Linked DNA regions of Homo sapiens: regions 1, 2 and 3 are each linked to region 4. The links are contacts of gene promoters, found by promoter capture Hi-C in blood cells and fetal thymus (Javierre and others, 2016). All regions are on one chromosome and are shown on one strand. Each heading gives the region's core, a stretch centred on a gene start or on the middle of the fragment in contact. The rest is flanking DNA. Distances are from core to core; before and after follow the strand shown.

Evidence for each region. Contacts are between HindIII fragments. The CHiCAGO score rates a contact against its expected background, and 5 or more counts as called.
Region 1: a fragment that was not itself captured here is called in contact with the fragment with the promoter of MGAT4A in region 4 in 11 of 17 cell types (total CD8 T cells, non-activated CD4 T cells, monocytes and 8 more); the score reaches 10.5 in total CD8 T cells.
Region 2: a contact is called between a fragment that was not itself captured here and the fragment with the promoter of MGAT4A in region 4, in 5 of 17 cell types (non-activated CD4 T cells, total CD8 T cells, activated CD4 T cells and 2 more). The highest score is 9.7, in non-activated CD4 T cells.
Region 3: a fragment that was not itself captured here is called in contact with the fragment with the promoter of MGAT4A in region 4 in 1 of 17 cell types (non-activated CD4 T cells); the score reaches 6.0 in non-activated CD4 T cells.

Annotation. Positions count from the first base shown.
Region 1 is chr2:98,800,431-98,806,406 of GRCh38, forward strand. The region is part of intron 7 of CRACDL (CRACD like); the gene reads right to left. Among named protein-coding and RNA genes, the nearest start is that of LINC02611, 32 kb to the left of the region's middle. The HindIII fragment of the contact is 728 bases long and covers 3,124-3,851 here.
Region 2 is chr2:98,610,726-98,616,441 of GRCh38, forward strand. It overlaps UNC50 (unc-50 inner nuclear membrane RNA binding protein), which reads left to right. Exons shown (of 6, transcript NM_014044.7): 3 at 50-170; 4 at 5,482-5,621; 5 at 5,707-5,716. Among named protein-coding and RNA genes, the nearest start is that of UNC50, 5.0 kb to the left of the region's middle. The HindIII fragment of the contact is 3,811 bases long and covers 104-3,914 here.
Region 3 is chr2:98,625,706-98,631,429 of GRCh38, forward strand. It overlaps MGAT4A (alpha-1,3-mannosyl-glycoprotein 4-beta-N-acetylglucosaminyltransferase A), which reads right to left. Exons shown (of 16, transcript NM_012214.3): 15 at 18-130. Among named protein-coding and RNA genes, the nearest start is that of UNC50, 20 kb to the left of the region's middle. The HindIII fragment of the contact is 3,789 bases long and covers 2,310-5,724 here.
Region 4 is chr2:98,728,492-98,734,337 of GRCh38, forward strand. It overlaps MGAT4A (alpha-1,3-mannosyl-glycoprotein 4-beta-N-acetylglucosaminyltransferase A), which reads right to left and starts at 2,641. Exons shown (of 16, transcript NM_012214.3): 1 at 2,557-2,641. It overlaps LOC107985922 (a long non-coding RNA gene), which reads left to right and starts at 2,790. Exons shown (of 2, transcript XR_007087150.1): 1 at 2,790-3,204. RefSeq lists silencers at 2,649-2,978, 2,999-3,188, 3,295-3,589. The HindIII fragment of the contact is 4,047 bases long and covers 585-4,631 here.

The DNA.
Region 1 (5,976 bases), core at 2,238-4,737, 73 kb after region 4:
GTTTTAAACCATGGGCTCACTCTGAAGGTTGTGTGGAGAATCAGTCTGACTGTAGAGGGACGAGAGGCTGGGAAGCTAGGAGGGAGGCTGTGGCCACAGCTCAAGAGAGGTGACAAGGGCTTGGATATCTTGTTCTAGAATCCTCCCCGCTGGTTCACCAGGGTCCCTAGACACTACCTCCTCCATGAAGTCTGTTCTGGTCAGTCTCTCTCCTAAGTCCTCTGTAACCTCTCGAGACACTTGCCTCACTATGTTTGGTACTAGACATGTTTGCTAGCTGACCATCTACCCAACTGAAGTATGCCTTTGGTCATAAGCATTTCTTATCTACCGAACAAACACACACCACAGACTATGTACCAGATACACTTCTAAATGCTGAGCTTGGCAAGAGGTAAATTTTCCTTTCCTTACATCAGGAGCATGCTGGCAGAATTCCATCCCAAACACAGAAGGGTCACCTGCTGCTGCCTGTCTGTGGGGTAGGAATGTTTCCAGCTGTACTGTGTGTGTGTTTTAAGCGTGTGTCTGTGTTCACATGCAGACCCACGGGAGTGGGTGGGTGCCCTGGCTGGGCCAGGCCATGCTGCTGTGGGATAAGGTAACCTGCAATAGCAGCATCGCCAAGCACTGGGCCAGCTTATGACCACACCACCATTTCTCTCCTTTTTGGTTCCTGCCTCTTTCCCTGCAACTGCTGGTCTTTCCTTTTATTCTGTATTCTCTTCTTTCTCACCTTTTTCCTTGTCAGGAATGCAAGAGGGCCCTTGTAATCTCTAGGCCCTGTTACAGGGACTGTCCAGGGCCACCCTCATTGGCAGAGGAGTGCAGGAATGGCAAATGGGGGTCTAGACACCAGGAAAAAGAGAGAGAACCCACTCCAGCTCCATAATGTAGTTCACAGATGCCTGAGATTCCACCTGGAGCCTCTCAGCAGATAAGCTGAGAAAGGGGTGATGGGCTGAGCATCACCTTCCACAGTGCTGAGCCTCAAAGAAGCTGTGCCTTTGTCCCCAGTGAGCACAGGCAGAGCAGCTGTGTGATGAGCCACTCTGCTCTGTGGCAGGGGCCTAGGAGGCCTCTCTGAACTGTATGCTTGTAGCAGGTGTAGACACTTGCTAGTGTGGTGTGAAGATTCCATGACATAATCCACGACCTATGCCTCCCAGTGTGGTTGTGAAGTGAAATATCCACTGTCTATATCTCTCAGTGTGGTTTTGAAGATAAGTGAAATATCCACTGTCCCTCTTGGTGTGATTGTGAAGATTGGGTGAAATATCCACTGTCTATACCTCTCAGCGTGGTTGGTGAAGATCAGGTGAAATATCCACTGTCTACACTTCCCAGCGTGGTTGTGAAGATTCTGTGAGAGAATCCAGGGAAAGCCCTTAGTGGTGTTAGTTGCTGCCACAATTGCTGCTGTTGTTATGTGCTTGTTGCTAGTGTTGTTATTGTTCCTGCTGGAGGAGGGGTGGAGAATTTTGGTCAAACCTTACCCTGGAGCTTGATGGAGACCAGAGAGCCATTCTGCCATGACAACGAGCCCTCGTGGCTGTTGTGATAAGAAAACCACAGCAAGCAATGGGTTGCACCCCAGCCTCTTGCAGGGTCAGGCAGCCAGGCTGACTCTTGGCTCCCTGAGAACATCGTCCACGGGTTCCAGCAGACCATCTCAATGCTGTGTGTGCCAGTCTGCCTGCAAGCCCTGTAAGGGCAGGCGCCTCATCCTGGTCACGTCTGCCACAGTGTGTGAGAGCCAGCGGGTCTGATCGGGGCTGCCCTGCTGGCGCTGCATCATGGAGGAGCCTGGCCCAAGCCACACCAGTGTGCACCGCAGTCCCGCTATCCACGGCGGCGCTCTCTCCTCCATGCACACGCTGTGTGTTACAGCGAGCCTGGCCATCCCGGATGCAGGACACACTGCCCGAGATGAGAGCCGTTTTCATCTGCATTCCCAGGAATCACTCTTAAAATACCTCCACACAGAACTCTCCTGTAGGAGAGGATGACAAAGTTTTCAGACCCACATTTGGCATTATTACTGAGCTATTTGTATTCGGGAAGATCTAAAATGAACCCTTTCAAAAATCCTCAATGTTAAACCATTTCTAGAGGTGTTCAACTACGCCTACGTGGGACAGATTCGTCTCATCACTTCATTTTGACTTTCTGATAGGTGATGGTTAGTTCTTTTAGTGCCTATTAAAATTCAGCCTTAAGGTATTGTTTTTTTCTTTCAGAAGGACTTCTGCTATGACGAGTTGAGGGGCCCAGGGTGGGACCCCAATGGTGGGCCACACCCCGTATGACACTAGGGATGCAGCTGTTAAGTCTGGAAGCTGAGGGCTGTCAAGCACAGTCTCCTGAGAGGCAACGAGTTGTCGTACAATGTAAATTCCCAGGTTGCTTGCCTTTTGGCTGAGGATATAAAGCACAGGCTCTGCCTTAAGGTAAGGCAACAAGATTTCCAGGCCTCTGAAAAATTTGGTACATGGTGTCCTTTCTGAAGTAGCAACTTTTTCAGCCTCCTGAGTAGCTGGAATTATGGGTGTGAGCCACATGCCTGGCTTTTTTTTTTTTTTTTTTTGAGATGGAGTCTCGCTCTGTTGCCCAGGCTGGAGTGCAGTGGCGCAATCTAGGCTCACTGCAAGCTCCGCCTCCTGGGTTCAAGGGATTCCCTTGCCTCAGCCTCCCGAGTAGCTGGGACTACAGGCATGCACCACCACGCTCAGCTAATTTTTTGTATTTTTTAGTAGAGACGGGGTTTCACCATGTTAGCCAGGATGGTCTCGATCTCTTGACCTCGTGATCCACCCGCCTCAGCCTCCCAAAGTGCTGGGATTACAGGCATGAGCCACTGTGCCCGGCCATGACTAGCTAATTTTTTTCTAAATTAATTTTTGTAGAGATGGGGTCTCGCTATGTCACCCAGGCTGGTCTCCAATGATCTTCTCACCTCTGCCTCCCAAAGTGCTGGGATTATGGGTGGGAGCCACTGCACCCGGCCTGATGCAGCAATTTTTAAGAAACTTTTTCTTTTCATAACATTTCTTTCTTGTTCATAGAAGTACACAAGCATATTGTACAGATTTAGAAAGTAGATAAAAGTATAAAGGAGAAAAAAGCTTCCCATAAATCAACAACCCAAGGGAGCTGTGTGAACACTTCATACTTTGGCATATGCTACTTCCAATTTTCTCCATTATGCTGTCATCCTAAAAATGCACATCAACAGCTCATTCCCAGGTCTTCACAACATTCTCTGTGGAAAAGAGGCCTGAGTTTGCTAAGACTTCGGATCTAAAGTGGATCCATCATCGCCATTTCTCACAGCCAGCTGTGCTAGAACAGTCACTGTGCCTCGTTGCTTCAACAAATAGAACAGCGGTCCTCTGCTCTGCCTGCCATCCAGGTCCACTGCCACAGCCCTGGTTGACCTGGTGGAAATGGGACCTGTCTACAGACACTAAGAGGACTTCTGGGGCAGAGGTGGGCCCCAGGCCCTGGGGACACATGGGGCCACACCACTGCGGCAGGGTTTGTCAGGCTTCCTAGATAAACAGCTTGAGGGGTTTTGCTTTTTAAAAGCCATTTATTGATCTGTTGTCAGTCTTGACTCACAGGCTGCTCCTGATCAATACATGCTGGCAACGTCTACAGTCGCTCGTCATCAGATCTGTCCCAGAGCCAGGCTGTGTGATCTCACTGTGGAACTCAGGGTGGTAATGCTCAACCAAGTCTTCTTCTCAAAACCATGCTGAGCATTTTGAGACTGAGCAAGAGCTTTTCAGGGCAGGCCCCCACTGCTAATGACAGGAGACGGTGCTGTGTCCCAGTTCCACCTTAAATTAAGCTTACCGCCATTCCTTCCTCTCCTCATTCAACAAATAGAGTCAATCATCGCTGTGAGCTGACTCCATATTTGAGAATTCGCCTACTCGCTAAAATACATTTGTAATCCCAAAATCAATATGCATGGTGTTGGCATGGTCATTTGCAAACACGTGCAGGGCAGCAAAACATTTGAGTTTCCCAATGTGCAAGTTCCCAGCTGAGGTCAAGCAGTGATGCGCCGCCTTATTGTTTTAGCTCTTACACCGTATACAGTATCTTTTTTGTAGTCTACTCAGTGCCACATTTTGGGGCACTAGGTTTTCTTGGTGATTCTGCTGGTTAGGCTGCCAAGTGGAGTGCTGATGTGCTGTCTAATGTTCCTAAGCCCAAGGAGGCTGTGATGTGCCCGATGGAGATAATGTGTGTTTCAGATAAGCTTCATTCAGGCCTGAGTTACAGTGCCGTTGGCTGTGTGTTCGGTGTCAATGCGTCAACAATATATACTAAATAAAGCATCTTTAAACAGAATTACACCTAAAACAAGGTTATGTGTTGATCTATTGATGCTGTGGCAGGAGACACACAGGAAGCTAACCTTGCATTTCCTCCAGGAGCAGTGGCTCAGTACTTGCTAAGTTAGCTTGCAGTGACTTCTCAGAGCATAACTTCCTTAGACAATGAGAACGGACTGGACCTGGTGGGTGCCCACTAGGTGCCAGGCCCTGGGGAAGGTGCTGAGTCTAGACAGGAATGATTTTTTTGAATCTTTCTCTCCAGTGCATGGAGACAGGCTCTCCTGCAAAAGCCATCAGGACCAGAGGATCTTCTGACAGCCACCATGGTCCACAATCAGGAATGAGTTCCAGAGCCTGCTGAAAGGGGACACGGCAGGGCCTCTGGGGTGCTGGTCTCATTCTGTTTCTTGGTCTGGTGTATTCAGTCTGGAAATGCACTGAGCTACACACATAGGATCTGTGCATTTCTCTGTATGCATATTATTCTTCAATTAGAAGTAAAAGCACACAAATAACAAAACCCCCCCTAAGACAGGAGTCACTAGGTGCTTGAGAGTGACCAGGAAGAAGAGCCTAGCTCCCTGTGCACATAGAGAAATGAGGCAAGTTTGCACCCAGAGCTGTTTCCACACTGCAATTAAGCAAGGTGCCCCGGATGCCCTCACCAGCAGACCCTTTCCACCGCTTCACTACCCCACAGCTTCAAGTGCACCCTCCGTAGGGCCTCACCCCCTTTGCCTTTTCTAACCACTGCCTCCCCTCATCCACACAATCTCCCTCCTCCTCCACCCTCCAGAGCCTCCCCTCCTCTTGCTCCACTTCCTCTCCTAAGTGGAATTGCACAACTCAGCGAGTGCAGAGGATCTGACTCCACACAGACTCACTTTGCAGCCTAGGGGCAAACAGAAGGACACTGTTTCTGGAAGCTTCTTTCCCAGCCACCAGCATGGGGCTGCCAGGGCCAAACTGCCCTCATCCCTTACCTGACTCCCAGGTCAGGAGGCACTGCCAAGGGCTCCTCAGCCGGCTCTCCTGCTTTCCCAGGCCAGGCTTTCTGTGGTTTGAATTTCCCAACTGATGCTCAGAAACCCGCCTCCCGCTGGGCCACATATCTCTTTTCACACAAGCTTCAACTCCACATGGCAGAAAGACAAAAGCCACTGCTGCTTTAACAGCCCTGGTAGCACGCTTCTATCATTAAAAGGCGAGGGAGTGAGGGCCCAGAGGGGCCGTCTTCCCCGGTGAAAAGGCTGAGGGAGACAGAGAGTCTCCCAGTGGCAGCATTTATTTACGAGGGCCTCATATGGTAGTATATCCATCATGGGGTGGGGTGAGTGTCAGTCCTTGTCCCAGGGCAGGAGTTTGCTCAGGTCCCCATAGTAGAAACTGATGTGAGTTTTTCCCAAATGGGGCCCTGGGGTCTGCTTTGGTTGTTGTCAGGGCCCCAACTATACCTGCTTTGGGGATCTATTGCTCACAGGTAACATCTGTGAGAAGGCATTCATAAAGAAAAAACAATCGTTGAGTCACATCTGTGTTTGGGTGTGTGGAGTGAGGCCAGGAATCTGGCCAGCCATGTGTATTGGGGGCACCCCAAGGGGCAGATGCCTTACCAGGCTCTTTTCCT
Region 2 (5,716 bases), core at 759-3,258, 120 kb before region 4:
CCAGAACCTAGCAGAGTCCCTAAATGAATCTTGTGAATCTTTCTTTCAGTGTCCACTATAGGATTTGGCTTTGTGCTGGACATGGGATTCTTTGAGACAATAAAGCTTCTCCTTTGGGTTGTACTCATAGATTGTGTAGGCGTTGGTCTTCTGATAGCAACTTTAATGTGGTAAGTACCATAACTTTGGTTTTTCAGATACTGCTGTAGCATCTCCATTTGTTTGCTTCAGAGGTACAATAGCAGCAGATGGAAATTGAAACCCAGGTAGAGTTACTAAATGATCAATTTTGACTGCCAAGATTATTACAATTTTCCCTCCTGTGTTGCCACCTATATCAGAAAATACTATAAAGGCTGGTTTATAATATTGTCAAATGTAGCAAATAATTGAAATAATTATGTTTTGAACCCAAAATATCTGAGATCGGTCTCAATTTAGAAAGTTTAGTTTGCCAAAGTTAAGGACATGCCTGTGACACAGCCTTAGGAGGTCCTGATGACATGTGCCCAAGGTGGTCGGGGCACAGCTTGCTCTTATACATTTTAGGGAGACTTGAGACATCAGTCAATATGTGTAAAATGTACATTGTTTTAATCCAGAAAGTGGGGAAAGGCAGGTTACAGTTAGATAAGAGACAAATGGTTGCATTCTTTTGAGTCTTTGATCTGCCTTTCACTGAATACACAATTTACTTGTGAGAGGCAGGTACAGGAATAGTCATTTATGCCTTAATCTGGCTCAGTGAGTCTGCATTTTTACATAAACAATGGGGCAGAGGAAGCAATCAGATAAACACTTGTCTCAGGTGAGTAGAAGGAGGACTTTCTGTCCCACACCTGTAAAGATAAGCTATCTTAGGAATAAAATAGGAGGCAAGTTTGCCTGACACAGTTACCAGCTTGACTTTTCCCTTTGGCTTAGTGATTTTGGGGTCCCGAGATTTATTTTCTGCATACTAACAAAATGCCTGGTTTTGCAAAAATATTACAGATTTAGCCAGTTCTGCTTAAGTTGTCTGGATGATAGCATGGTTTTCTGCATTTGTCAATAGAGACCACTTCTTGATATTCATTGTGTTTAAATCCATTTAGATCTAAAGGGTTATTTTGTGGAGTCTTACTTTGAATCTTTGCATTAAATGAAGTATACTTGAAAAAGAAGGATTTTTTTTTTAAACTTCTCATGCCTTCCTACTGAGAATAAAATTCTCTCTCTTTCTCTCATACACACACACCCTCCGCCCCCCCCGCCCCCCCACCGCCACACACACACACGGGCTTTATCAGAAGGGTTCTCAGTCTGACTTTGGTTGATTTAGCAACAGCAGTGTACTGAGGATAAATCTGGTGTTTGGTAAAGTCCTCCTGTGTGGTTGGCATGCTGGATGAAGGGCAGGGGATGTGGCTAGCGATCTCAGTAGAGGACCAGTGGTTGGGTAGACATGGTGGTCATTGTGGAGAACATTTTAGTTGCAGAGAGACCTGGGTTCAAATGCCAACTTAGTTATCTGTGAAACTCTTAGTCCCAGTCTCTTCTTTTACAAAATCTAGTTAATTACCTATTCTGTCCAATTTTTGAGATAATTATGTTATGAAAATTACCTGACACAGTTAAGTGTTCAATATTTGGTAGTTACTAATATTTTAAGCAAAACTCTGCAACTATAACTTCTGATACCAGCCTTTTTTTTTTTTTCTTTGAGACGAAGTCCCACTCTGTCACCCAGGCTGGAGTGCAATGGTGTGATCTCAGCTCACTGCAACCTCCGCCTCCCGGGTTCAAGCGAATCTCCTGCCTCAGCCTTCTGAGTAGCTGGGATTACAGGCACACACCACCACACTTGGCTAATTTTCATACTTTTAGTAGAGACAGGGTTTTGCCATTTGGCCAGGCTGGTCTCAAACTCCTGACCTCAGGTGATCCTCCCGCCTCAGCCTCCCAAAGTGCTGGGATTACAGGCGTGAGCCACCGCGCCCAGCCAATACCACCCTTTTACAGGCATAGTTCAGATATGCTAGTTCCATTCCAGATACTGCAGTAAAGCAAATATCACAATAAACTGAGTCACACAGATGTGTTGGTTCCCAGTGCATATTAAAATCATATTTACACTGTACTGTAGTCTTTTAAGTGTACAATAGCACTATGGCTCTAAAAAACAATGTACAGACTAATTTAAAATGCTTTATTGCTTAAAAATGCTGACACAGAGACATGAAGTGGGCATATGCTGCTGGAAAAATGGCACAGGCAGACTTGCTGGACACAGTTGCCACAAACCTTCAATACGTAAAAATTTAAAAACTACAGTTTCTGTGAAGCGCAGTACAGTGCAGTGTGGTAAAATGACATATGCCTGTATTTTCCTTTGTAACTTCTGACTAGTACAGCAGAGCTTTTGTATGTGCTAGTTAGCCAATAAATGCTGTCCACTGTTAATATAAAATTCTAAAATCTGGCCTAGAATTAATACTAATGTAAGTCACGTATTCATTACCAAGAAATTCATGAAAAACAAATGGTGTGTTTTAAAATTTCAATAAATAAGACTTTCAAAGGAATAGTTTCATTCATAACAAGCATTCTGCCCTGAATGCAGTAATTCTGGAGGCCACTGTCTTAGTCTGTTCTCAATGCTGCTATAAAGAAATATCTGAGACTGGGTAATTTATAAAGGAAAAAGGTTTAATTGACTCACAGTTCTGCATTGCTAGGTAGGCCTCAGGAAACTTATAATCATGGCAGAAGGCAAAGGAGAAGCAGGCACCTTCCTCACAGGGTGGCGGGATGGAGTGAGTACAAGTGGGGGAAATGCCAAATGCTTATAAAACCATCAGATCTTGTGAGACTCACTGACTATCACGAGAACAGCATGGGGGAAATTACGTCCATCTGGCCCCACCCTTGACACGTGGGGATTCTGGGGATTGCTGTTCAAGATGAGATTTTGGGGACACAGCCAAACAATATCAGGCACAGAAGGGGACCAAATCAGCCTGGAGTTTAGCACATTTCATGTGAGTCTGTATCATAGTTTGAATTAAATAGAAAGGGATTCAGTGTATTTTTGAGAACCTATGTTGTGTGAGGAACTAGAAAGAGAAATGACTACATGTAATGATGACCATCACAGAGGAGCTACAGAAGCCAGCATAAGGTGGTGGTTTGTGGAGATGGGGAATAGTTGACTCCTGGTGCTGGGAATTGCAAGTGCAATGGCATAGAGGTGTGAACAGCACACTAGGTCTGGGAGCATAGGGTGACACCGAGTCACTGGGGAAGAGATGTGACTAGAGAAATTGGCCTTCATGCCATTCAGGAAAAAAATTGGACTTTATCTCATAGACTGCATGTGTGGGTTGGGGGCAAAAGGAGGTGGGGAGCTTTGAGGCTTTAAAGTAAGGAAATAATGTCAAACTCACACTATCTTTTCCATGGCAGTGGAGGAGGCAAAAGTTGGAGTAGTGAGTGGGCAAGGCTGGATACACTTGCAGAGGTCTGCGTAGGAGTAGAGGAGGCCCAGATAGTATGGTGGTGATAGGAATAGAGAGGAGAGATGGATTCGAGAGCTTCCTGAGATAACAAGGTATGAGGGGGGATCAGGAAGAGGGAGTGGGTGGGAGGCTCCTTTGGGATGACCTGTAAGATTTTGGCTTAGATGACTGAGGAAGCAGCAGATGCAGATGAAGCAGCCCTTGCTGGCCTGTTGAGTTCAGGGAGCTTCCTGAAGAGTGAAAAGAAGGTCAGTAGACACTGAGGTTGATGACTCTAGACCTAGAGGCAAGAGTCTGGGCCATGATGAGCCTCTGACTGGCGTTAATATGGAGCTGGGAGGTGAAAACCACAGTGCCTTGGAGTGCTCTCGGAAGGCACATCTGTCTTTCAGAGGAAAGACTCTCACTGAGGCCAGAAGCTTGAAAAGCGCCCATTTGGGATAAGCGGGAGAATAGGGGCAGCAGAGAACGTCTACAGAAAGGGCGCTCTTGGGGAGCGAGCTACATACTGATTCCATAAAATTTGAATGGCACACATTCTTGGCTAAAAAGGAAACTGTCTTGGTAAGCTCTAGTTTGTTCAGTATTGTTTTGGCATTTTCAGATAACGAAATGCAGGGACTGTTAACATTAGTATTGTACCTCTGTTTATTTTCCATTTTTATCCCCAGTGACGGAATAGCGTATTCTTAATTGTACCCTTGAGATGAAATGAAATAATACATTAAAAAATACATTGAATTTCCAATATATGTTTATAATACAAGTTTTGTTCTTTGAAGATCTTACTTTTCTGTTACTTGGATATTTTACTTTTTATTCATCATTGAACTGAAAAACTAGTAGGCCATGTTGTAGAACAGTGACATACACTTGAATAATTGTTCTTATGGCTGGATGCGTCACTCTTCCTAACTGCTTCTTACTATTTCATCCTCCTTTTAATAGGGGGTTGACCCAGGTCTTGGGCCTTGGGCCTGTTCATTATCCACATTCATTTTTTTGGTGACATCATTCAGGCCCGTGGCTTTAAATATTAATATCATCTACACACTGATGAGTTTATATTTCCAGTTTGGACTTGTCTTCTAAACTCTAGACATTGTATACAACTTCTTACTCCATACTAGTTGGCATCTTCAACATAACAGGTCCAAATTCAAACTTCCGCACACTCCTTCCCACCTCAAAACCACTCTTCCCACAGCCAGCCCCACCTCAATTAAAGGCAGCTCCATCTTCCATTTGTTCAAGGCAGAAATCTCTCAGTCATCCTTGAGTATTTTTTTCTCATACTCCAATCCAATAATGTCAGGAGCTCTACCTTCAGAGTATCGTGTGTGCCACATCTTAGCACCTCCACTGCCACCAGCCCCTCTGCTCATCTCTTCCTTGCAGTAGCCTTCTAACTGGTCTCTGCTGCCAGTCTTGTCTCTGGAGTCTGTTCTCAGATCCGCCACCAGGGAGGCTCTGTCAAGGCATTTAAGTCAAATACTTTTCTCAGAACTCCACAGTGGCTTCTCACGTCACCAGGAATAAAAGCCAAAGATTGTAAAACGGCCACAGGCTTCGTAAGACATGGAGCCTGTGTGACTTGATGTTGGGCCCAACCCTGTTTCTTTTCTGGCTTCATTTCTTGCTCCTTTTCTTTCAGACACTGGTCTTTTCACCATTCCTCAGGCCTGCCAGGCACCATCACTATCCTTGGGTCTTTACCCAAATGTTACTTTATGACCCTCATATGTACAATTGCATCTCAAGTTTGTATTCTCCACATTTCTCTGCTGCTTTCTCTCTTTCCATAATACCATCTGACATAGGTGTATCATTGTCAGCCTTCCTTCCTAGATGGAAGGCAGGGATTTTTGTCTGTTTTGTTTACTGGTATATCTCCAGAATTTAGAATGTCTGCCGCATAGAAAGTCGTCAGTAAACATTTACAGAATTCATTTTATTATGAAAGAAATTTTAATTTTGCTCTTAGGTTCATCTCTAACAAGTATTTAGTGAAACGACAGAGCAGAGACTATGATGTGGAATGGGGCTATGCTTTTGATGTGCATCTCAATGCTTTTTATCCACTCCTGGTCATTTTGCATTTTATCCAGCTTTTTTTCATCAACCGTAAGTAGCAGTTAATTAGAGTATTATCCAAGTCTTCATTGCATGCATTGGTAAAGGGACTCATGGTCTGCGTCTCTTCTGGCAGATGTTATCCT
Region 3 (5,724 bases), core at 2,954-5,453, 100 kb before region 4:
ATTTGATATATGCTTACCTCATTAAGAATGGCCCAAACAGCAGAATTCTGAATAACTGAAAGTCGAAAGGCTGAAATGGGATTGAGACTTGGATCCACCATTCCTTCTGCAACACCATTCTCAAATTTTCCTTCAAAATAAAAATCAATACTTGTTGGATACACCGAGATAAGCAAACATAAAATATCACTGAGTTAAGGCAGGAAAGGAATACACCAAAATATTTCTAGTAGATGTCTTTTGACAGGGCACAGGTAATTTCTTTCCCCCTTCTTTCTACTTTCATTCAGCTTTTATATTTTTCATGAAGAAGTGCATATTTAAAAACTTCACAATTTACTTAATTAGGCAGAGCTATAATTTTTCTCACTACAAATTAAAAAACAAAAATATATTTGTTCTTATATCAACCATGTTTTAAACTATAGGTTTTTTGTAAATTGTGATTTACCTAAATCTTACCAAAATATAATCTGTACCATCACGCAGTCTGATTGCTTTGAATGTTAAGTCAATAACAAATTTTGATTTGTTAATTAAATACGCACACAGTTGTTCACCTTGAGCAGGGACTCAATACAAGTGTATTCTTTCCAAAGGCACATTTAGAAGGAATTAAGAAATAATGCCTCCTCTACACAGTTCAATATAAAACTCCACTATAATGACAAGCTAAAACAGGCTCTCCTATAAAAATAAGGACCAAGAACCATAAAAGGTAACATGCTGTGTACCACTTTTCTTGCTATCAGGAATAACATCCATCTTAAAACCAAAAAATGTCGTCAGAAAAGTGACAAGAAAATGGTTCATTGTGGGCCAAATTTCTTTAAGCCAAGGTTGGTAAACTTTTTCTATAAAGGACAGTCCTTGTGGGCCAAGAGGAAATTTGAGATTACTATGTAGGGTAATATATACAGGAAGAGAGAAAACAAATTTTTACAAATCTGAGGTGGAAATTCAATATATAATGATAACTGAATACAATATATATTTTTTGGTAATATAGGTATACCAAGGAGAAGAACATAATTCCTTTCGGGAGTATAACATTTCACTTAACTGGGGTTCAAAGTTAGTGTTCCCTATAATCAAAACTGACTGCAAATGTTCCCTTGTTATTGTTGATTGATAATGATATTTTATATACATCTTTGAAACGTTCTTTCACACAGCCTAGGTGCTGCCTAATACTGATATCAATCCACAAACACACGATTTTAATGGGGCACATGCATCCCTTGGGAGGCACTTATGGAATTCTATTTGATTTTCCTTTTGGTATATTATTAGCCTTCCGGTATATTATTACACTGCAGATGAATCATTTCCAATTGAGATTTAGGTGAAGTTCCTCAATTAAATGGATTTTGAGATATGGAAATTTCTCTTTCATTTGTATTGAGGTCCAAAACCACTGCTGGGACTATAGTTTGAGCTTGGAAAGTGCATCTGCCGTAAACTTGTGTGGGATGGAGATCTTGCTTCCTGTTTTAACTTTTGAAAGCATGAGAAATGTATAAAGAGCTTGATGGTGCTTCAAGTTCAATGTTAACTGTCATTAAAATGATTTGACTGCAATGTTAGTTTTGCATATAAGCACCATTTTGTCTTGTAATTTTAGGTTGAATTCATTAAGAAACAATATTAAGTCTGCAGCAAAAACTAGTTTTCTTTTTTTTTTCTTTGAGATAGAGTCTCACTCTGTCACCCAAGCTGGAGTGCGATGGCACGATCTCGGCTCACTGCAACCTCTGCTTCCCAGGTTCAAATGATCCTCCCACCTCAGCCTCCCGAGCAGCTGGGATTACAGGCATGTGCCACCACACCTGGCTAATTTTTGTATCTTTATTAGAGACGGGGTTTCACCATGCTGGCCAGGCTGGTCTTGGACCTCTGACCTCAAGTGATCCACCTGCCTCGGCCTCCCAAAGTGCTGGGCTCACAAGCGTGAGCCACCATGCCCAGTTTAGCAAAAACGAATTTTCAAAGTGATAATAGCTGTTGAGGGAAGTTCTCATTTGGGAAAATTTCAATCTTGGTCCTGAACTCAAAAAAACTGCAGTAAATCTCTACCACTGCTAAGCCACTGAACTGCTGTGTGGCAGGGCAAGTCAGGATATTCAGTTCCTATTTCTGACAAAAATTCACAGCATTTGTGATGGCTAAGTCCATGAGAGTGAATAAGGTTCACTGTTGACACTTTTGTTCAATGACATATGACACATTCAAATCTTTTCTGCAAAGTACCTGGCTGATGAATAATAAAATAAATAACCATAGGCTTTAAATACCTTACATTTTTTTCAAGCTTTATAAATTAATGCAACTAAGCCATCTTCTCCACAAGTATTTTTTTTTAGCACCATTTGTTTAAGCACATCTTAGCAGATTCTACTTCAGGTTGTACTGAATTTGTGTTTTCTCAGCCTGTGTGAAAATACTCTTCTCTGTAGTTGTTCTAAACAGACTATTTACAGGGGCCAACCCTCAGTGTCTTCAACCATGGCACTGATTCCAAGTAATAACTGAGCAGTACCAGTGACAACTCCGTCAATTCCTCAGGAGCCAAGAAAAACACTCAAAATAATCTGCTTTGTTTTTTGAATACTGATATTGCTCCCAATGTCCTTAAGTCTTCAAACAATTGTTATTGCTGAAAGCCTCCTATCCTTAAATAAGTTTACTTTCTCTGCACACATTACTTTGGCTGCTGCTATTAACCATGATTTAATTAACTCGTGATTGGTAAGTGGTTTTTCTTGCTTAGCTAAAAAATAAGCCACTTGAAATACCACTTTGGGAACAGCCTCATTTTTATTTTTAGTGAAGAAATTCTGCTGTGATGAGATATTCCATTCTAAAGTTTCTAACTTTTCTGACCACTGCTTTCCTGTGAGTTGGGAGTATCATTGTATTTAGCCTAATAACGTACAGCTCTCACATAACTGCACAATAACTACAATGACTTGCCAACAATTTTGTAACATAACCCACATTCTACAGTGTTAAAAGCCACAATGCTCAAAATCTACTTTTCTTGTTTTGATGATGGATAAGTACTTGTAATTTTTTTTTAAGTCAGAGTGCCATGATATGTGTGGCTCTCAAAATACTGTCCAATTATAAATGCATCATTGTGATCTGCAGTACTCTAAGCAGCAGTGCAAAGCCGGGAGAGCATGACCTCGATCTCTCCTGCACCTACTCACTCATCTTTGCTGTTGGAGAGAAGCACACACGCACACACTACATTAGAAAATGAGCATGGCTGTCTTCCAAAAAAACTTTATTTATGGACACAGAAATCTGAATTTTATATAATTTTCACATAGCACAATGTATTCTTTTTACTTTTTTAGCCATTTAAAAACAAAAAAAGAAAAAGATGACTTTTTAAAAAATGTTCTTAGATCACAGACTATTCAAAAACAGGTGGAGGGCCAGATGTGCCCCATGGACCGTAGTTTGCTGACCACATGCTGTTACATTATGCAATCCATTGTCCAGTCTCACAGCATAGTTAATAGATTAATAATAAAATAAGGTACATTCAGATTGAAAACCACAGCAGAGCAGGCTTGTACTAATTTATATTGTAAATGTTGAACCTATGAGCCTCCAAAGTAATGCTTTTATTCAAAAATTATTAATAAACTTATTTCATAGAAGTTTGTCCATACTTGGTGCTGGACTTGGGTAGCAGGTAGGTGCTACCAAAAATTATTATTGAATATTGAATTAGGCATGGGATTCAGATCTTAAAAATATTGCAAAACTTGGAACATTTTAACCAATGTGACATTGAATACTGTCACCTGATGAGCTCATTTCATTAGAAAAATAATTACCAAATGATAAGTAGTTCATCAAAACACTCTTGCCCAGCAATTTATCCTCTCCCATGTATAAGAACAGTACATACACTACCGCAAAAGATTGCAAACAACCTAAGTATCCATCACTAGGAGCCTGGCCAAATAAATTACAATATGCTGATACAAGGGAATTTTAGGCAGCCAATTTCTTCAGTCGAAGAAAAAATAAAAAAGAATAAGCCAGCCACAGTCGCTCACACCTGTAATTCTGGCACTTTGGGAGGCTGAGGCAGGCAGATCACCTGAGGTCAGGAGTTCGAGACCAGCCTAGCCAACATGGTGAAACCCCGTCTCTACTAAAAATACAAAAATTAAGCCAGGCATGGTGGCCTGCGCCTGTAATCCCAGCTAATTGGGAGGCTGAGGCAGAGAGAAATGCTTGAACCCAGGAGGCGGAGGATGCAGTGAGTCAAGATTGTGCCACTGCACTCTACCCTGGGCGACAGAGCAAGACTCCATCTATAAATAAATAAATCAATCAAATAATGAAGAAAAAGTTGAAGATAATGCAGTTGAAGATTTGCTTCTCTTCCTAAGTCTATATTGTAGAGAAACTCTCATACATGTGCACAAGTGTTCAAAGCAGCCATGTTTATTACAGCAAAAACATGTACACAAACTTTATGACCAGAGAACAGATCGTGCTGTCCACAGAATCCATCCATAGAGGAGTGAAAAAGAATGAGTCGTAAACACACACACTCACGTGGATGAATCTCACAATTGTGAGGGGGAAGAAACCAAACTGTAGACCACAGAAAGATATTTATATCAAACGTGAAAACAGGCAAAATCCCACTGTGCATTGCTTAGGAATATATTCCATACATAGTAAAAATGGAAATGGTAACCATAAAATTCAGGTGTTGAAGGAGAAGAGAAGCTATTAGGGTATAGCTTTGGGGAGAAGGGGAAGAGAAGAGAAGCTATTAGGGACGGACAGCTGAATTGGCACATCTTAAGCTGGAGGGTGGATACAGGTACTCAGCATATTATTATTATTAAAATATTTTTAAATGTTCATGTTCCATACGTACATAGGCATTTTGTTCCATGAAAAAAAGAGATGTAAAACTGGATTATAGGGCGTATCATTTGTGTGTGACGATGTGTTGTTCTTAGAGAACATACCCAGATATTGTTATTTATGCATACAATACTCCCGAAGGGACACAAATCATTACGGGAACTGCCTCTCAGAAGCAGTGGGTAGGAGAAGAAAAGGGAAGAAGACTTAAGACTACCCTTTTAAATTTGTATTTGGTACTGTGTGTGTGTAATGACTTTTCAAACTACAAACTTAACCTTTGTCCTTAACCCAATGGTCTGGAAGGTAAGTATTAAGACAGGAAAGAAGAGAAAAAGTGAAGGAAATTACCAGAGTGACTGGAACCCCACACTCCTGGCATTGACAGGGACGGCCAAGGGCTACAGCCGTGGCTCCCCTCCGCCCGCCATGCCTGACCAGTGGCCCTTTCCTTCTCCCACTGGGTCTCTGCAGAAGGTTCTTCTGCCGTCTCGCAGCTTTAACCCACTGAAATAGAACTAGTATTTCTTCCACAAGACCATTCTTAGCTATCACGCTCTACTCTTCTAACCCCCACGCCATCAACCCTCGGGTCTCCACTGATGGCCAGCTGATGGTCTACTGTTCTTGCCAATGCCTTCACGCGTAAGTTGCTACCCAGTCTGATCCCATTTAAATTCAGGCCCCTCTCCAGGGCCAGTCTTGGCGACATGCAAGGGGAGCAGGGAAGTGCTGGGTAGAGAAGGTCATGAGCCCTGGCTAGAGCTCCAACCTCGGGCCTGTGCCCACCGACCTAGGTGAGGACAGGCATTTCCGTCT
Region 4 (5,846 bases), core at 1,391-3,890:
AATCCTAGCACTTTGGGAGGCTGAGGCAGGCAGATTACCCGAGGTCAGGAGTTCAAGGCCAGCCTGGCCAACATGACGAAACCCTGTCTCTATTAAAAATACAAAAATTAGCCAGGAGTGGTGGCAGGTGCCTGTAATCCCAGCTTACTCGGGAGGCTGAGGCAGGAGAATTACTTGAACCTGGGAGGCAGAGGTTGCAGTGAGCCGAGATCACACCACTGCACTCCAGCCTGGGTGACAGAGACTCAGTTTGAAAAAAAAAAAAAACTTCATAGCAAGACTGCTCTAATTGTCTTAAATCAATAAGCACCCAATAATGAATTCTGATTATAAAAACACGGGTGATAATTCTATGAATTATATAACTTGGAACATTAATCCCGGTGTGGCATTATATTAAAATACTTATAACTTTCAGCTGCTATCTACTTAGCCCTATTTTACTTGAGAAAGAATTTTGTTCTAGTAAAAGATCTAAAAAGCATACAGGTTATTAGAGTAAGCACTCAATTCATAATAACGGGGAGGTAGAGCGCACATCATATAGTTAAGGATATTTTAAAAGTTTTACTAAATACAAATAAAGCTTGTAAAAACATTCCGTAGAAATGCATAGAGACAAGTAAATGAACTCTAAAACCAAAGTAAACTATTGATATACTACCCCTAATATATGAAAAAAAAAAAATACTGGATCCAGTAAGTTATGAAACTCTGAAGATACTTACAATAAATTCTACTAGCAAATAAGCCCTGAAATTTTGCAAGAAAAATATGCGTGTTTTACTCAGTAAGAATGTAGTCATACATTTTTAATTAGGGTTTCCCAGCTAATAAGTTTAACTGCACGGCACAAGTGAAGAAACTCTTCGGACAAGAGTAAAACCAAGGATCTACTCACTCTTCAATTATGAGACATAATTCACAGGCTGGCTTGTAAGACACAGGTGACCCACATTTTTATTAGTGTCCACATTTGCAAAAATTTTAATCTAGCCCCTTAATATTCTCGGAGACTATAATCTAACACGTTTGAATCTTTAACAACAACAAAAAAAGGTAGTGGCTAAAATTGCTAGTCATTTCTCCACCCTCCCAAAGGTGAATGGAACTTTCAACTCTAGACATCAGACTGTTTTGTTAGCAATCCTTTAAGGGCTTCAGTCTTCATTTTATTATTGGATACAAAACCTTTACTTATTTTAAAGTGTTCTCTGAAATACTCAATATAGTCCACGGCTGAGAACACTTTGCCGAACGTTTGGCATCTTCCTTAATCAGCATCCCACAGACAGGGTAGAGGTGACTTAAGAATGAAAGGCACAATAATCCCTGATATCTGGAATCAATAAAATCCATGACGTAAGCCTATATAACTTTACACACCACAATTGTGGCAAAATTCATTTATTTGCCATTTATAAACGGGTCAGTAGTTTTCTTTAATACAGCTTACGTAATGTCATCGCCCAGTGCGTTTTCGGGTTTACACGTGTGGGTTAAAGAAATCTATGTCAAGATAACCTGTTCATCAAACTGTTTTTTAAACATTCAGAAAAAGAAACATAAACCACAAAACGCATATTTTTATTCTAAATTTACAGTCTACGTTCCAACGAACGACTGTCATTATCTTTTATCAAATAATCTGTCCAACAGCAAAAGCACAACAGCAAAATACGTGGAAAGCATTCAAAGCATACATTGTGCCTGCTTCTATTTTCCAATGCGGAATGTAGGCAATGAAACCGCTCCAGAGAAACACACTGTTGCGAGGAATAAAGGCGGGTGTGCAAGTGGCTCGACTGCCAGCTCAGAAAAGCTCGCCTCCGAGATGTCACCTGGCACACTTGGTGGAGTCACCGAGACCCAGCCTCAGGGTCCTACTGCAGCTTCCTCATTACGGAGAGAGCTGAGGCCTGGGGAAACGGGGGCTGCTCTTTCACGCGGGCCCCGCAGCCCTTCACTTTGTGTGAAAATTCCCTGCGAAGGCTGCACGGCCGGTCCCCTCGGGAGCAGCCCCTGCCCCTGCGCCTCGGACCGTCCGGCCCCGCCCACCTGCCCCGCGGCCCCCGCGAAAGCGCCGACTCCCGCGCAGCCCCCGGGTCCCACAGGCAGCTGTCCCTCCCCCTCCGCACCCCCCGGATCAGCACTTTGCTCCACTTTCCCCCAAAGTCGCCGAGCCCCGCCACGCCGGGGAGCGCCAGGAACGCACCAGGCGCCGAGCCGGCCGCAGAGAGGGCGCGCGACCCCGAGGGGTGCGCGGTGCGGGGCAGGGACGCTGGGAGGACGGCCCGGCCCGCGCCCCGCCGCCCGCCCCCGAGGCCCAGCCGCTCCCGGAGCCGGCCCCGCGCCCAGAGGCGCCAACAGCTCCCCCGCACAGAGCTCCGGCCGGGCCGCGGCGCAGTAGGCTCCTTTACCAGCAGGTGGATCTCCCGCAGCCCGGGGCCGCCAGCCCGGCCGCCGGCGCCGCCCCCAACTCCCGCGCCCTCCGCGCAGCCGCCCCGCGCCCCCTCCCGCCCCCGCGCGCCGCCGCTGCCGCCGCGAGCCCCTCACCCGCCGCTGGCGTCGCCGTGCTCCCGCGGCTGCCGGCGGAGCTGCTGTAGCCGCCGCCGCCGCTGCCGCCGCCGCTGCGGGCCGCCCCGCCCGCCCCGCCGGCTCCGCCCCCGCCGCTGGAGCGCCCGCCCCGCCCCGCCCCGCCGGGCCGCCCCGACCCCGCCAGCCATTGGCCGGCCCCGCGGGCCCCGCGCCCCGCGCCCCGCGCCCCACCAGTGGCCCGCGCGACTGTCACTTAGGGGCGCCGCCACGCAGCCTGCGGAGCGTTCGGGAGGCTGGCCCGGCTCATCGGTGTCACGGCGAGGTCCGGAGCGGAGCCGCGGTCTCGGGTCCCAGCTCTGGGCGCCGGCCTGCTCCCCGCCGCCCCGCTGCCACATCTGGCTGAGATCCTCCCGGCGCGTGCAGGGACCGCTCCGGCGGCCAACAAAGGCCCGGGCGAGCCCTCGGCCTGCGCCTCGGCGCGCGACCCGACCACCCGGGGCTGCCCCAGCTCCCAGGCGCCTGCCTGCCTCGACCCGGCCCCTTCCCAGCGGCGCGCCCCGCTCCGGGCCGCCCAAACTGGGCGGCCTCCCCGGGGACAGGTCCCGGGCCCAGCCCCACAGGAGCTCCCGAGGCCCCGCGGACGGTCGCGACAGCCCCAACTTCCCGGTGAGAACCCCGCGAATCGGCCAGAAGGGCTGATTTCAGCAACTGGGAAGGAGAAAAACAACTAGGGTTTCAACGCACATCGTTGGGTGCTAATGCCCCTGATTTTCCACTATGCCCCGTTTTCTTGAACCCCATGTCCTTATCTGTCGCCGTTTCACAAGGTTAGAGGTTAACTTCAAAGGCAAAAAACTGACTCGTTTGTAGAAAGCCTGGGTGGTCTGTCCCTGTTTTTCATAGTATCCATAGGACTTGTGCTAACAGTAACTACCCCTGGGTACGTCCTCTTTTGAATACTTAACTGTATAGCAGGCAACCGTATAGCAGGCATGGGTGTTAGATCGTTTATTGCATATCTCATGTTTTAAATTTATTCCCCATTTTTCATAAGAGGAAACTAGCTGAGAGGTGAAAGGGCTTGCCCAAGGTCACACAGCTGGTAATGGTTCAAAAACAAGGGATGTGTTAACTTTATTGCCGCAATAATCCTTACAGCAATCCTACCGAGTAACCTGTAAGGGAATTGAGGGGCCAAAGATCAAGGAGGCAGCCTTGTTCCTGCCAAACTCCCAAAGTAATAAGTAGATTCTTTTCAGAAAACAGTAATTTCAATAATCGAAAACTCTTAAGAGGCATCAATCAGAACAGGGTCCCCTCCCCACCTCCGATAAATTCCATTATTTTTATCTCAAGATAAGAATAATTAATAATCAGCTAGAACATGCATGGAGTTATCAGCCTTCCCATGTTGAGGTTTCTCCATGACGGCTAATTTAAAACTTCAGGAAGAGACACGTAACATCCCTGCTCCCATAGTCTCTTACTAGTTTAGGGGAACCATACCAAAAGATCTGTCCACTGCCCAGCACTGTGGACACAACTTGGGGGATCACAGCCATGATATCCAATGACAGCTCTTCCCTCTACTTTGAGTGTGTTTTCTCTCTACTTCCGGTTTGGCTGTGTCCCCACCCAAATATCATCTTGAATTGTAAATCCCACAATTCCTGTGTGGTGGGAGGAACCTGGTGGGAGGTAATTGAATCATGGGGGAGGGTCTTTCCCATGCTGTTCTCGTGATAGTGAATAAGTCTCACGAAATCTGATGGTTTTAAAAAAGGGAGTTTTGCTGCACAAACTCTCTTTGCCTGCCACCATCCATGTAAGAAGTGACTTGCTCCTCCTTGCCTTCCACCATGATTGTGAGGCCTCCCCTGCCATGTGGAACTGTAACTCCATTGAACCTCTTTTGTCCGTTGCCCAGTCTTGGGTATGTCTTTATCAGCAGCATGAAAACGGACGAATACATTGGGGACCTGAAAGCCAGGTTTCCTGTATTCTATGACAAAGCCATTGCCAAGTAGCAAGCTGGCAATTTGATTCATGACCAGATGTAAACAGAGGTAAAGACTGAGACCATTCCAAGGTAAAGCTTTTAATACATTGTTGGATATATCCTGCCTAAAATATCTCCTAGGAATAGATGATTCTAGGCTTTGCTATTACAGTGCTCTTAATGACAGACAAGCAAACTACTTCTTGCAGAGGAAGAAAGTCCTGCCATTTGATAACATCATGGAGAATGCCCCCAAGCCATTTTCATGAATTACCCAAAAGACCAAATGGAACAGGAGCTATTATCCCTATTTTATTCACGAAGAAACTGAGGCCCTGAGAAATTAAGACATTTGACAGATACAAACAGTAATTTAGGCAATTAGTAAATGTTTGAATCAGAGTTCAAATCCAGGTCTGTTTGATTCCAGAGCCCCTACATCACCCCTCCAGACTATCTCTCTGCTCACATCTTCAGCAAGTTACAAAATTTTGTTGAGTGGATGAATATTTTTACATATATTTCCCAGCTGGGCACAGTGGCTCATGCCCATAATCCCAGCACTTTGGGAGGCAGAGGTAGGAGGATTGCTTGAGCCCAGGAGTTCGAGACCGGCCGGGGAAACAGAGAGAGACCCATGTCTTTAAAAAAATAAAAATTAAAAATTAGCCTGGTGTGCATGCATCAGTAGTCCCAGCTACTGGGAAGGCTGAGGCATGAGGATCATTTGAGCCCAGGAGTTCCAGGCTGCAATGAAATATGATCATGCCACTGCACTACAGCCTGGGTGACAGAGTGAGACCCTGTCTCTCTCTCTCTCTCTCTCTCTCTCTCTCTCTCTCTCTCTCTCTCAAAAGAAAGAAAAAAAAAAGCCAGGTGTGGTGGCTCACTCCTGTAATCCCAGCACTTTGGGAGGCTGAGGCGGGCAGATCACCTGAGGTTCAGGAGTTCAAGACCAGTCTGACCAACAGTGTGAAACCCTGTCTCTATTAAAAATACAAAAATTAGCTGGGCATGGTTGTGCGTGCCTATAATCCCAGCTACTTGGGAGGCTGAGGCAGGAGAATCGCTTGAACTCAGGAGGCAGAGGTCACAGTGAGCCAAGATCGCGCCATTGCACTCCAGCCTGGGCAACAAGAGTGAAACTCCATCAAAAAAAAAAAAAAGATGTTTCTCTTCACCTTCTCCAGTTTTTTCTCTTAGTGAAGGAAGGAAATGAAAGCATTTACAGACATTCTATAAGCAGAGGCATATGTCAGAGGAGAAAGGAATAGGGGGAAGGACAAACTTCAGTTATAGACTCCACCGG